Linked DNA regions of Homo sapiens: regions 1 and 3 are each linked to region 2. The links are contacts of gene promoters, found by promoter capture Hi-C in blood cells and fetal thymus (Javierre and others, 2016). All regions are on one chromosome and are shown on one strand. The core of a region is centred on a gene start or on the middle of the fragment in contact, and the rest is flanking DNA. Distances in the headings are between cores, read along the strand shown. Region 1 overlaps ANKFY1 (ankyrin repeat and FYVE domain containing 1). Region 2 holds the start of ALOX15 (arachidonate 15-lipoxygenase). Region 3 overlaps ANKFY1 (ankyrin repeat and FYVE domain containing 1).

Region 1 (3,416 bases), core at 832-3,331, 440 kb before region 2:
CCCCCCTCACAACCGCCTTCTCACTTGTGCGTGTCTCCCTACGTACTGTTTGCACTGCAGCAGCTGACTGAACACATATTCATTCCCGGCCATGATGGACACATGTAAAGGAGTCCTGCGGGATCCAAAAGAAGAGGGGTCAGTTCAGGACAGGCCTGTTCAGGATGACTCACGGCAAGACGCAACCAGAATCCCAGGCAGAATCACCACCCGCAAGAAATCCCACATTTCTACAAGGCTTCTAAAACCATGACCCAGTATCAAAACCTGAAAACGGATCTGCTTATATGTGACCATTATTCAGCGGCCAAAATGGACAAGAATCAGCTCAAGGAAGTGATCTCAAATACTCCCCAACTCAATCCCAACCCCTTCCTGAAGGCACAGACAGGATTTTCTTGAGAACAGCAGTTTCTGCCACAGGTGTGCAGATTTTCCCTCATCTCTTCTCCATCAATTCTAAAAGGAAACTCTCCCCCATAATCTTCTATTCTTCTCAAACACACTCAGAGCAGCAACAGGAAAGAACTGATGAAAGCGGCATTTAACCCCTTTCACTGCTTTCATTTAGCACTCGGGAGCCCTGCAGGAGACTGGCACTGCAGAGCCACCACTAACACACACACACACACACCCCCGAGTCAGGGCCCAAGGCTGCACCTACCCACCCACCCCCCCCACCACCCCCCACCCACACAGTGAGTCAGGGCCCAAGGCTGCACCTACCCCGCCCCCCACCTCCCCCCAAAAACACACACTTTGAGTCAGAGCCCAAGGCTGCATCTACTACACACACACACACACACACACACACACACACACACACACACACACACTGCGAGTTTATTGCCGTTGGAGGAAAAAAATGAAAGAATCAACAGCAGGGAAAGGGATGCAATTATTTTAGGAAATAAGGTAATTATCACATGATACTGAGATTTCATGAAGCTACATCTTATTTACGTACTTATCTATCACATAAATACATTCTCCTGTCTGACAACCAAACTTTACAAAAAATCTTTTTTTTGAGAGGTTTTTCAAAGGTATAAAATACTGAGAATGTTCTAATGACAAGCGGGTCCCAACTGTGGTCAGTGATTCAGGTGACTTAACTATCCTTCACAGCCCCTCACACCACTGTCCCAAGACAAGTAGCCTTTTCTCAGATCCTACCACAAGGAATCCTCAACTATTTCTGGAAAGGGGCAAAATGAACACAATAAATATTGTTAAATATGCAAAGGGCCGTGCTATGGACAAAGGTAGCAAGCTGTGCAGATAAAGTGGGAGTGTTTACGAGAAGGTAAAATTGGGTTTAATATAGAGAATTTTCTAACAATTAGAATTTTCTAACAATTAGACCTCAATAGTTCTTCAAACTATCCAAGCAACTCTAAGAAATGCTACAAGGTTTCCTTGGAGGCACTGGACTAGATGACCACTCTGGTTCCTTCAAACATGAGATACAAATTGCTTAAAAGCTCGAAAACTGGCTCACGCCCGTAATCCCAGCACTTTGGGAGACCGAGGTGGGCAGATTGCTTGAGCTCAGGAGTTCGAGGCCAGCCTGGACAACATGGCAAAACCCTGTCTCCACCAAAATACAAAAATCAGCCAAGTGGGGTGGCGTGTGCCTGTAGTCTCACCTACTCAGGAGGCTGAGGTGAGAGGATCACCTGTGCTCAGGAGGTAGAGGCTGCAGTGAGCCAAGATCATACCACTGCGCTCCAGCCTGGGTGACAGAGTGAGATGCTGACACAATTAAAAACAAACAAACAACACACAAAAAAAACCTCGAAGACTTCAGTTACCCAGGATAGAAATGTTTTCCCCAAATGCCTCTGGTTTTAGTAGTGACACTACTACTACACATCGATGTCTGTGACTTTAATGAAAATAAGACTGAATAATGCCAAACTAAAGAACATGAACTCCCCGTATGCCAATTACATGCTACTGTAAGATATCTTCTGAGAACAGTGCTAAGGGCACAGTGTCTGCTCCCCAGCTTACCTCCCCTTGCTGTCCTGCATGTTGGGGTTGGCACCAGCCTGCAGAAGGGCCTCTGCAATCTGCGCCATCTCAGACATCACATCTGCTGAGTGTTTCTTTGAACTGTACAAGGCCACAAGGTGCAGTGGTGTCTCCTGGGCACCCAGTGTAGCAGCGTTGACAAAGGCCCCATTCTTAATGAGGAAAGTGGCAGCAAAGAGATCTCCTTGAAAAGAAATAATAGAAGAAACAGTGTCAGGGCAAAGTATTCTGGCCAGTGCTTCTTCAAGAGGGAGCAGAAAATGACTGCAGACAAAGGAGAGCGATAACTAGATGTGTCTGAAGGAACCTCTTGGGGCATCTGTAAGTGGAAACTCATTGAGATCATGGAGTTACAGACGAATTCAAAAGGCTCTGCTCAATTTTTGGTTACCTGTTACCACTTGTCCTGCCTCCTCACCTCAGTATCCTTTCACTGTTTAAGAATACTAGGCTGGGCCAGGCGCAGTGGCTCATGCCTGTCGTCCCAACACTTTGGGAGGCCGAGGTGGGCGGATCACCTGGGGTCGGGAGTTGGAGACCAGCCTGACCAACAGGGAAAAACCCCGTCTCTACTACAAATACAAAACTAGCCGGGCGTGGTGGTGCACGCCTGTAATCCCAGCTACTTGGGAGGCTGAGGCACGAGATTCGCTTGAACCCAGGGGGTGGAGGTTGCGGTGAGCTGAGACCACATCATTGCACTCCAGCCTGGGGATTAAGAGCAAAACTCCGTCTTAAAAAAAAAAAAAAGAACACTAGGCTTCTACTCTTCAAAGGCCTCCTTCGGTCATCTCTCAGAAGGGTTTCCAGGATCCCTCCCTACACAATTTCTCTCTCTCTTTCTCTTTCTTTCTTATTTCCTGACCACAGCTTGTACCTAACTAAGCAACACCTACCCCCATTCTGCTGTACTTGCATTCACGTTCCTACTCAGAGTAATCCCATGTCTGTTTTATTATTATAAAATTTATTTTCTTTTTAGATTTTTTTTTTTTTCAGACAGAGCCTTGCTCTGTCACCCAGGCTGGAGTGCCGTGGTGCAATCTCAGCTCACTGCAACTTCCGCCTCCGAAATTCAAGCAATTCTCATGTCTCAGCCTCCCAAGCAGCTGGGACTATAGGCATGTGCCACCACACCTGGCTAATTTTTTGTATTTTAGTAGGGACGGGGTTTCACCATGATGTACAGGCTGGTCTCAAACTCCTGAGCTCAGGAAAACCACCTGCCTCGGCCTCCCAAAATGCTGGGATTACAGATGTGAGCCACCGTGCCCGGCCTCTTTTTAGTTTTGTAATCTCATTATATACACATAACTGACTTAATAAGAAGTTTACAATGAAATATTTGAACAGAGTATCTGTACACATTACTATTTACA
Region 2 (3,500 bases), core at 651-3,150:
GAGGGACCGCGCCGAGCAGGTGGCCCCAGGACTCGGTTCTGAGGGGACGGGGACGGCAGGTGGGAAGGTGCGCTCCTGCCTTCACTTTCTCCTCCCTGTGGTCACTGACTGTGCCAAGCGCTGGGCTGAGCGCTGCCGCGCCCTGGACGAGCGCGCTGTGGAGCCCGGACGCGCTGGTGGCAATTCCCGCTGTGCGACCCCCCACCCCACCCCGCCCGAGGCTGAGGACCTGCAGGGGCCCCACCGGCCTGGGGACAACCTTCCCGGAGACCTGGAGGCGGAGAGGGCTCAGCCAGGGAGAGTGACAGAAAGGGAAGGCAGGGGAAAGGCGCGCAGAAAGAGAGCGGCGGGGAAGGGAGGGCGAGCAGCATCTTGGAGCTGGAGCTCAGAGCCCAGGTGTGGGGGGTCAGCAGGTCCGGAGGCTCTCGAAGGTGGCGCCAGGGGCTTTGGATTTGGTCCCGAGAACAAGCGGGAGCCGTTCGAATGTGTTAAGCAGGGGGAGTGAATTAGGGAGAAATCATTCCGGCTTCAGAAGGGCTTGGAAGGTCTGCAGCAGAGGTGGCGAGGCCGCTGGAGGTTTGAAATGGCTTTTAAAATAGAGAAACCGGGAGGACCGACGACCGCTCCGGCGACCGCAGTTTCCAGGCACCAGAGCTGTGTGGAATGAGGGGCGCTCAGGAGCATCCCCTTAATTCCAAGGAGATCGAGTAGCGGGAACATTTATTGAGCCTTTACTGTGTGTCACCAACTGCCCACCATAGGGAGGAAAAAAGGGAGGAGGGAGCGCGCCTTTCCACCTTCCGTGCCCCGTCCCCTCACCATGGAGTCGCGGGGCCACCTGCTCCGTGCGCATTTTCTCTCTTCCTGGCTCCCTTTGCCCCGCTTTCTCGGAAGCTCGGAGCAAGGGCGTGGAGTGCGGGGAGCAGGGCTCCGCAGGTTCAAGAGGACGCGGGCGGTCGGGGGCGGGACGGATATTGGGCAGGGACGCGGGAGATGCTCAGGGTCTAGAACTGACTGCGCCGGATTCTTGTTTAGAGGGAGGTGAAGAGAGGAAGGAGGCGCGGGTGACACCGGGGGAGGCAGGAGGAGAGGGCTGGGAGGTGGGGAGAGGGGAGGACCTCATCCGGGCATGTTGCTTTGACGTTCCCTGAGACAGACATCCGGATTTGGGGATCTGGGAGAGAGCTAGAGCAGTGATGGGAATTTGGGCTTTCGCGGAAGAAAAAAAGTTAACAGGACCGGGTAGAACACCCGGTAGATGTGACATGAGATATGACGGGAGGTGGGTCGGGAAATCGAGAGCGTTCTCCTGTCTTGACTCCCCATCCCTTCCCTCTCACCACCCACTCCACCCCAGGTGATAAAGCCTGAAAGGTAGAGATCCAACAGCGCTAGCGGTTGAAACGGTTTTTAAAATAGAGAAAGCGAGAGGACCGACGGCGGCTCCAGTGACTGCTGAGTTTCCAGACAAGGGAGCTTTGTGCAATGAGGGGCGCACAGGAGCATGCCCTCAATTCCAAGGAGATCGGGTAGCGGCAACATTTATTGAGCGCTTACTGTGTGCCACCGACTGCCCTAAAGCCCCCCACCCCCGTGGCCTCCGCGCGCTTTGAGCCCAATGCGCGGGCCCTTGGCAAAGAGAATCGGCCAGAGGCCAACGGGGGCGCATGTCCTCCCCGGTATTTGACTGACTCGGAGCCAGGGGCGCAGCCCACCCCGCCCGGCTCTGGGGAGCTCACCTTGCCCCGTGCGGGCCACAGTCGCTTCCCGAGCGCCGCCTCCCCGTGCTGGCCGACCAGCCACAGCTGCACCTGGTTGTTGGAACCGGCATAGAGCGAGGCCCCAGTGGACACGCGGATGCGGTAGAGACCCATCTTGCTCAAAGATGTTTCGCTCCTTCTGGTGGAGAAGGGTGGACGAGCTAAATAACCCAGCCTGAGACCCCGCCCTCTCGGAGGTCGCTTGGGGTCGGAATGTGGGTGGCAGGTCTCCAATCAACTCCGCCTACCGCTGGGGCCCCCAGCTCCAAGGAGCAGAGCTTCAAGGGGCAGAATTCAGCCCCAGTCCAAAAGGCGGTGTCCTGGCGAGAGCAGGGAGTGGAAACCACTATCTTGACGGGAGGGAGAAAAAGAAAAGGATTTGGACCGAAAACACGCAGGAAGAGGGAATCAACGCCTGGTACAGCAGGCAGGCGAGGTGGGGGTAGGAGTTATGCACGTGTGTACCACGGACTTTGGGCCAAGCCTGGGTGGCTGGGAAGCCAACCTCCATCTAAACGCACGCGTGCACACACACACACACGCAAGGACACGCGCGCGCACACACAAGCCTCACAAGTTGGATTGCAGGAGAGGGTGAAGTGGGCGAGGAGACCCAGTTTGCAGTGGCATTTGAGGAAGGTACATTCAGGCCACGGAATTCATTCGACCAGCTTTGCACACTTGCCTTCTCTGTGCCAGCCACTGGGACTCATTCCTTTTGAGCATAAAAGCCGCTGCCTCCCTGTTGCCTGCAGAATAAAAGTCCAAATGTTTCTGGCATTCAATGCCCTTGCTAACCTGACCTGCTCTCCTCACCTCTCATCCCACTGCACCCTGGCATCTCCTGTGCTGGAGCCATGTGTTCCCCGGAACCCCCCCTCCCCCCGCCGCCCCTGCTGTTCTCTCAAAGAACTCACTTCTGGGTTAGTCTGGTCATGCTTCTAAACCCTAATTCGTCTCCAGTTTCTTTTTGGGCTGGAGCCATGTGTTCCCCAGAACCCCACCTGCTGTTCTCTCAAAAGAACTTGCTCCTGGATTAGTCTATTCATCTATTCATGCTTCTAAACCCTAGTTCACCTCCGGTTTCTCAGGAAAGTCTTACCCGGTACTTTCACCCCCCACCACCCCACCAGAGTGAATTAGCTTTCCTTTTTTTTTTTTTTTTGAGATATAGAGTCTCACTCTGTCACCCTGGAATGCAGGGTGGAGTGCAATGGCACGATCTCGGCTCACGGCAACCTCTGCCTCCCGGGCTCAAGCAATTCTCTGCCTCAGCCTTCCGAGTAGCTGGGATTACAGGCGCCTGCCACCATGCCTGGATAATTTTTGTATTTTTAGTAGAGACGGGGTTTCTCCATGTTGGCCACGCTGGTCTTGAACTCCTGACCTTGTGATCCACCCACCTCAGTCTCCCAAAGTGCTGGAATTACAGGTGTGAGCCACGGCGCCCGGCCCAGCTTTCCTTTCTAACACTTTTCTCCTTGCGCACACTTCTACTGTTGCACAGTTAATACTGCAGTGTGAGCATTTGTATGTGTGTATCCCCCACTAATGTGAGCCCGTCCTAGGCAGGGACTACACACCCAGCAGGACTCTCACTTTTGTTTCCCCTGGAGACGGCACAGTGTCAGGGTTTGTGGGTGTCAATAAGTGTTTGCTGAAACACACTGAGCTGAAAAATTCATTATAAATGAATGCTTCCCTTGGGGGAGACAAAGGGAAACAAATTATCAGGCAATG
Region 3 (3,704 bases), core at 101-2,600, 420 kb before region 2:
CTGAAACCCCATGTCTACTAAAAATACAAAAAAAATTAGCCGGGCCTGGTGGCGTGCACCTGTAATCCCAGCTACTCGGGCTGAGGCAGGAGAATCGCTTGAACCCGGGAGACGGAGGTTGCAGTGAGCAGAGATTGAGCCACTGCACTCCAGCCTGGGTGACAGAGGGAGACTCCGTCTCAAAAAAAAGGTGACTCAGCAGTCTGGGCAACATCTGACTAAACTTTCGCAGTGGGCAGTGAGTGAGGAAATAAACCTACTAAAGATATGTCGAATAAATTGGGGAAAATATTTGAAACATATGACAAAGAATTAACATTATTTTTTTTTTCTTTTTGAGACAGGGTCTCACTACGTCACCCAGGCTGGAATGCAGTGGCACAATCATGCCTCACTGAAGCCTCGAACTCCCTGGGCTCAAGTGGTCCTTACACCTCAGCCTCCCGAGTAGCTGGGACCGCAGGTGCATGCTAGCATACCAGGTTAATTTTTGTATTTTTTGCAGAGACGGTTTCACCATGTTGCCCAGGCTGGTCTCGAAATCCTGGGCTCAAAGAATCCAACTGCCTCGGCCTCCTAAAGCATTAGGATTACAGGCGTGAGCCGCTTCACCCAGCCTGAGTTAACATTCTTTATGATAAAAAGACCTTACAAATAAAAATAAAAAGACGGATACCCAATGGAAAAATGGGCAATGGATACAAATAGGTAATTCACAAAGATAAATAATGGCTAGTAAACCTTACTGATAACCAAATACAAACTGAAATCAGAGTACATTTTTTTATCTCTCAGACTAGCAAAGATTTTTTAAAGAACATAACCTTTCACACAGCAACTACATATGTAGACATTATCCAAAGAAAATAACTGGACAGATAAAGAAAAATGTACTAAGATGCTCAGCACAATATTATTAATGAAGAACTAGAACAAAAATCGTAAGAGTCCAACAATGGAGAACTAATTAAATAAATTACAATATACATACACACTGAACAAATGCAATGAAAACTAGATAGATATATATTCAACATAAGATATTTACTACATAGGCTTTTTGAAAAGTAGGCTAAAAATACTTGTATAAGATCTCATTGGCTGGGTACAGTGGCTCACGCCTGTAATCTCAATGCTTTGGGAGGCCAAGGTGGGCGGATGGCTTGAGCCCAGGAATTCAAGACCAGTGTGAGCAACATGGTGAAACCCTCTGTCTTTACAAAAATTCAAAAATTACACCAAAATCTCAGAAATCACCACTAAAGAACTTAGCCATGTAACCAAACACTGCCTGTTCCCCAAAAACTACAGAAGAAAAAAATTAAACAAAATAAAACCAAAAAATATAAAAATTAGCTGGGCACATGCCATTAGTGGCGGCATGTGTCTGTAGTCCCAGCTACTCAAGGGGCCAATGTGGGAAGAGAAATTGAGCCGGGAGGTTGAGGCAGTACTGAGCCGTGACTGCACCACTGCACTCCAGCATGGGTGGCAGAGCAAGACCCTGTCTCAAAAAGAAAAAGAAAAAAAAATAGGTCTTGCTTTTTGTTAAGATACACCTGTGTGTGTATGCATGCATACATATATATATAATACCTACACACACTACACACTACACACATAGAGAGGCAGACACACATTTTTCTGTGTCTGTCTCTCAAGAGATTGGAAGGATATATACTAAAATATCAACCCAGGTGGAATTTATAACTAATTTTTCTTTTAGCTTAATTTTACTTTTAGCTTTATTTTTATTTAAGGAACATGCATTATTTGTGCAATCTTTTTAAGTTAAAATAAAGACTGTACAGCAACTTGGGGAAATGCTTGGGATGAGAATCATAGTATAAAATATCTAAACTATTATTTCAACCAGAGTTAACTCTTGATTAGTCAGAATAAGAAGAGTGATGGTCAGAGGAATACTTAAAATCATGGTCAACGCAAGTAATTCTCACGGTGTTGTCCTGGGCCAGGAGATTCAGCCTCATCTGATAACTGATTGGAAATCTGATTCTCTGTCCTACCCCAGACCTGCTGAATGAGAAACCAGAGATGGGGCCCAGCACATGTCCTAACAAGTCCTCTATGTGATTCTGATGCTCACTAAGGTTTCAGAAACCGTACTTGATTCTTGATTACCTAGGAAAGGTGCAACAAGGACCAGGAACACCTTATTAACTTCATAATTAGGAATTGGCTCATTAGCTCTGATTACTCTCCTTTCCAACTAGAGTGGGAAGGAGCAGCTTGAAGGGGGCAATGTCAAGTGAGTGGACTTGAAGACCCCGACTTACCTGCAACCAGGTTAATTCACCATCTCCTAAAACAACCAGATATTAAAAGTAAAAAAAAAAGAAAAAGAAAAAGAAAAAGTGAAATACACTAAAATGATAATATTGTAGTTACTATGTTAAAGTTTTTCTTTTTTCTCTCACTGAATAATATAGTAATAGCACCTTTTCTTTTTTTTGAGACAGAGTTTTGCTCTTGTCACCCAGGCTGGAGTGCAGTGGCGCGATCTGAGCTCACTGCAACCTCTGCCTCCCGGGTTCAAGAGATTCTCCTGCCTCAGACTCCCAACGTAGCTGGGATTACATGTGCCTGCTGCCATGCCCAGCTAATTTTTTTGTATTTTTAGTTGAGATGGGGTTTCACCATGTTAGCCAGACTGGTCTTGAACTCCTAACCTCAGGTGATCCACCTGCTTCGGCCTCCCAAAGTGCTGGGATTACAGGCGTGAGCCACCCTGCCCGGCCAGTAGTAGCACTTTTAAAATGTTTTAAAAGAGAAAACATTTTAACACCAGACAGAAAACTAATTAGATTTATTTAAACAACCTAGGTGCTTCAGCTAAGCTGTCTAAGATCACCATAGTAGATCTTGGAAGTAGGCCAAATTTCTAAGCAGGCTTTGTAAATTGGGTTCAATACCTCAGTAGTCATCGTAATGAACAACAAAAAAAATGTAGGCCATGTGATTTGTCCACAGCAACCAAAAATCCCAAAACACATCCTACTAGACTCACATGGCCTGATCTTGAAGACAGCTCGTTCCTATCTGCTGAGAGAATCCCCAGCACCAACACCCTCAAACACCTTCCCTACAGTAGCAGTTTCTTAAATACTATTTGCAAACTTGCCCGGTTAATCTTGACCTGTACAAGTAATAAACAAAAACCTAGATTATCAAAAAACTTTTTTAAACTACTTTCAGTAGGGATTTCCTGGGAGGGCTTGATATTTCAAACAAAATGAGGTTCAAGTGATTTACAAGCTTTCCCACTCCTGCCGTGACTCTTCCCCTCATCTACAAAATACACTGAGAATAAATTCACTTTGTGACTCAGACGAAGCAGCCAGTGGTATAAGGGTAGGCAGAGAACAAGGATCAGGAAGGACAGTGTGTGCTGCAACTGGGTACTTGTGGGTAAATCGTCCACACTGTCTGCTTCCAATCTACTTAAGCAAGTGGTTGTAAAAGTCAGATGACTGCATAAAGCACGAGTTCTCTCTAAAAGGAGTAGACTCAGAAGAGAAAGCAGTTGGCCTCCGAGTCCTGCGTGAGGGAGGTAATCATCTCTCAGAAGGCCCTGCATGCAAGCCAGAAAAATCTCTGACTTCAAGGATGAAAAGTAAAATAACACTGAAACTTCTGACTTCGTTTCACTGCAGGCCAGGATGCATGTAAATACACTTTGGAGA

Evidence for each region. Contacts are between HindIII fragments. The CHiCAGO score rates a contact against its expected background, and 5 or more counts as called.
Region 1: a contact is called between a fragment that was not itself captured here and the fragment with the promoter of ALOX15 in region 2, in 1 of 17 cell types (naive B cells). The highest score is 5.5, in naive B cells.
Region 3: a fragment that was not itself captured here is called in contact with the fragment with the promoter of ALOX15 in region 2 in 1 of 17 cell types (naive CD4 T cells); the score reaches 5.1 in naive CD4 T cells.

The regions. Positions count from the first base shown.
Region 1 is chr17:4,195,357-4,198,772 of GRCh38, forward strand. It overlaps ANKFY1 (ankyrin repeat and FYVE domain containing 1), which reads right to left. Exons shown (of 25, transcript NM_001330063.2): 8 at 2,017-2,221; 9 at 47-115. Among named protein-coding and RNA genes, the nearest start is that of CYB5D2, 54 kb to the left of the region's middle. The HindIII fragment of the contact is 8,607 bases long and covers 1-3,416 here.
Region 2 is chr17:4,639,778-4,643,277 of GRCh38, forward strand. ALOX15 (arachidonate 15-lipoxygenase) reads right to left here and starts at 1,901. Exons shown (of 14, transcript NM_001140.5): 1 at 1,740-1,901. The coding sequence starts at 1,874. The HindIII fragment of the contact is 20,783 bases long and covers 1-3,500 here.
Region 3 is chr17:4,217,366-4,221,069 of GRCh38, forward strand. The region is part of intron 3 of ANKFY1 (ankyrin repeat and FYVE domain containing 1); the gene reads right to left. Among named protein-coding and RNA genes, the nearest start is that of ANKFY1, 45 kb to the right of the region's middle. The HindIII fragment of the contact is 3,847 bases long and covers 1-3,274 here.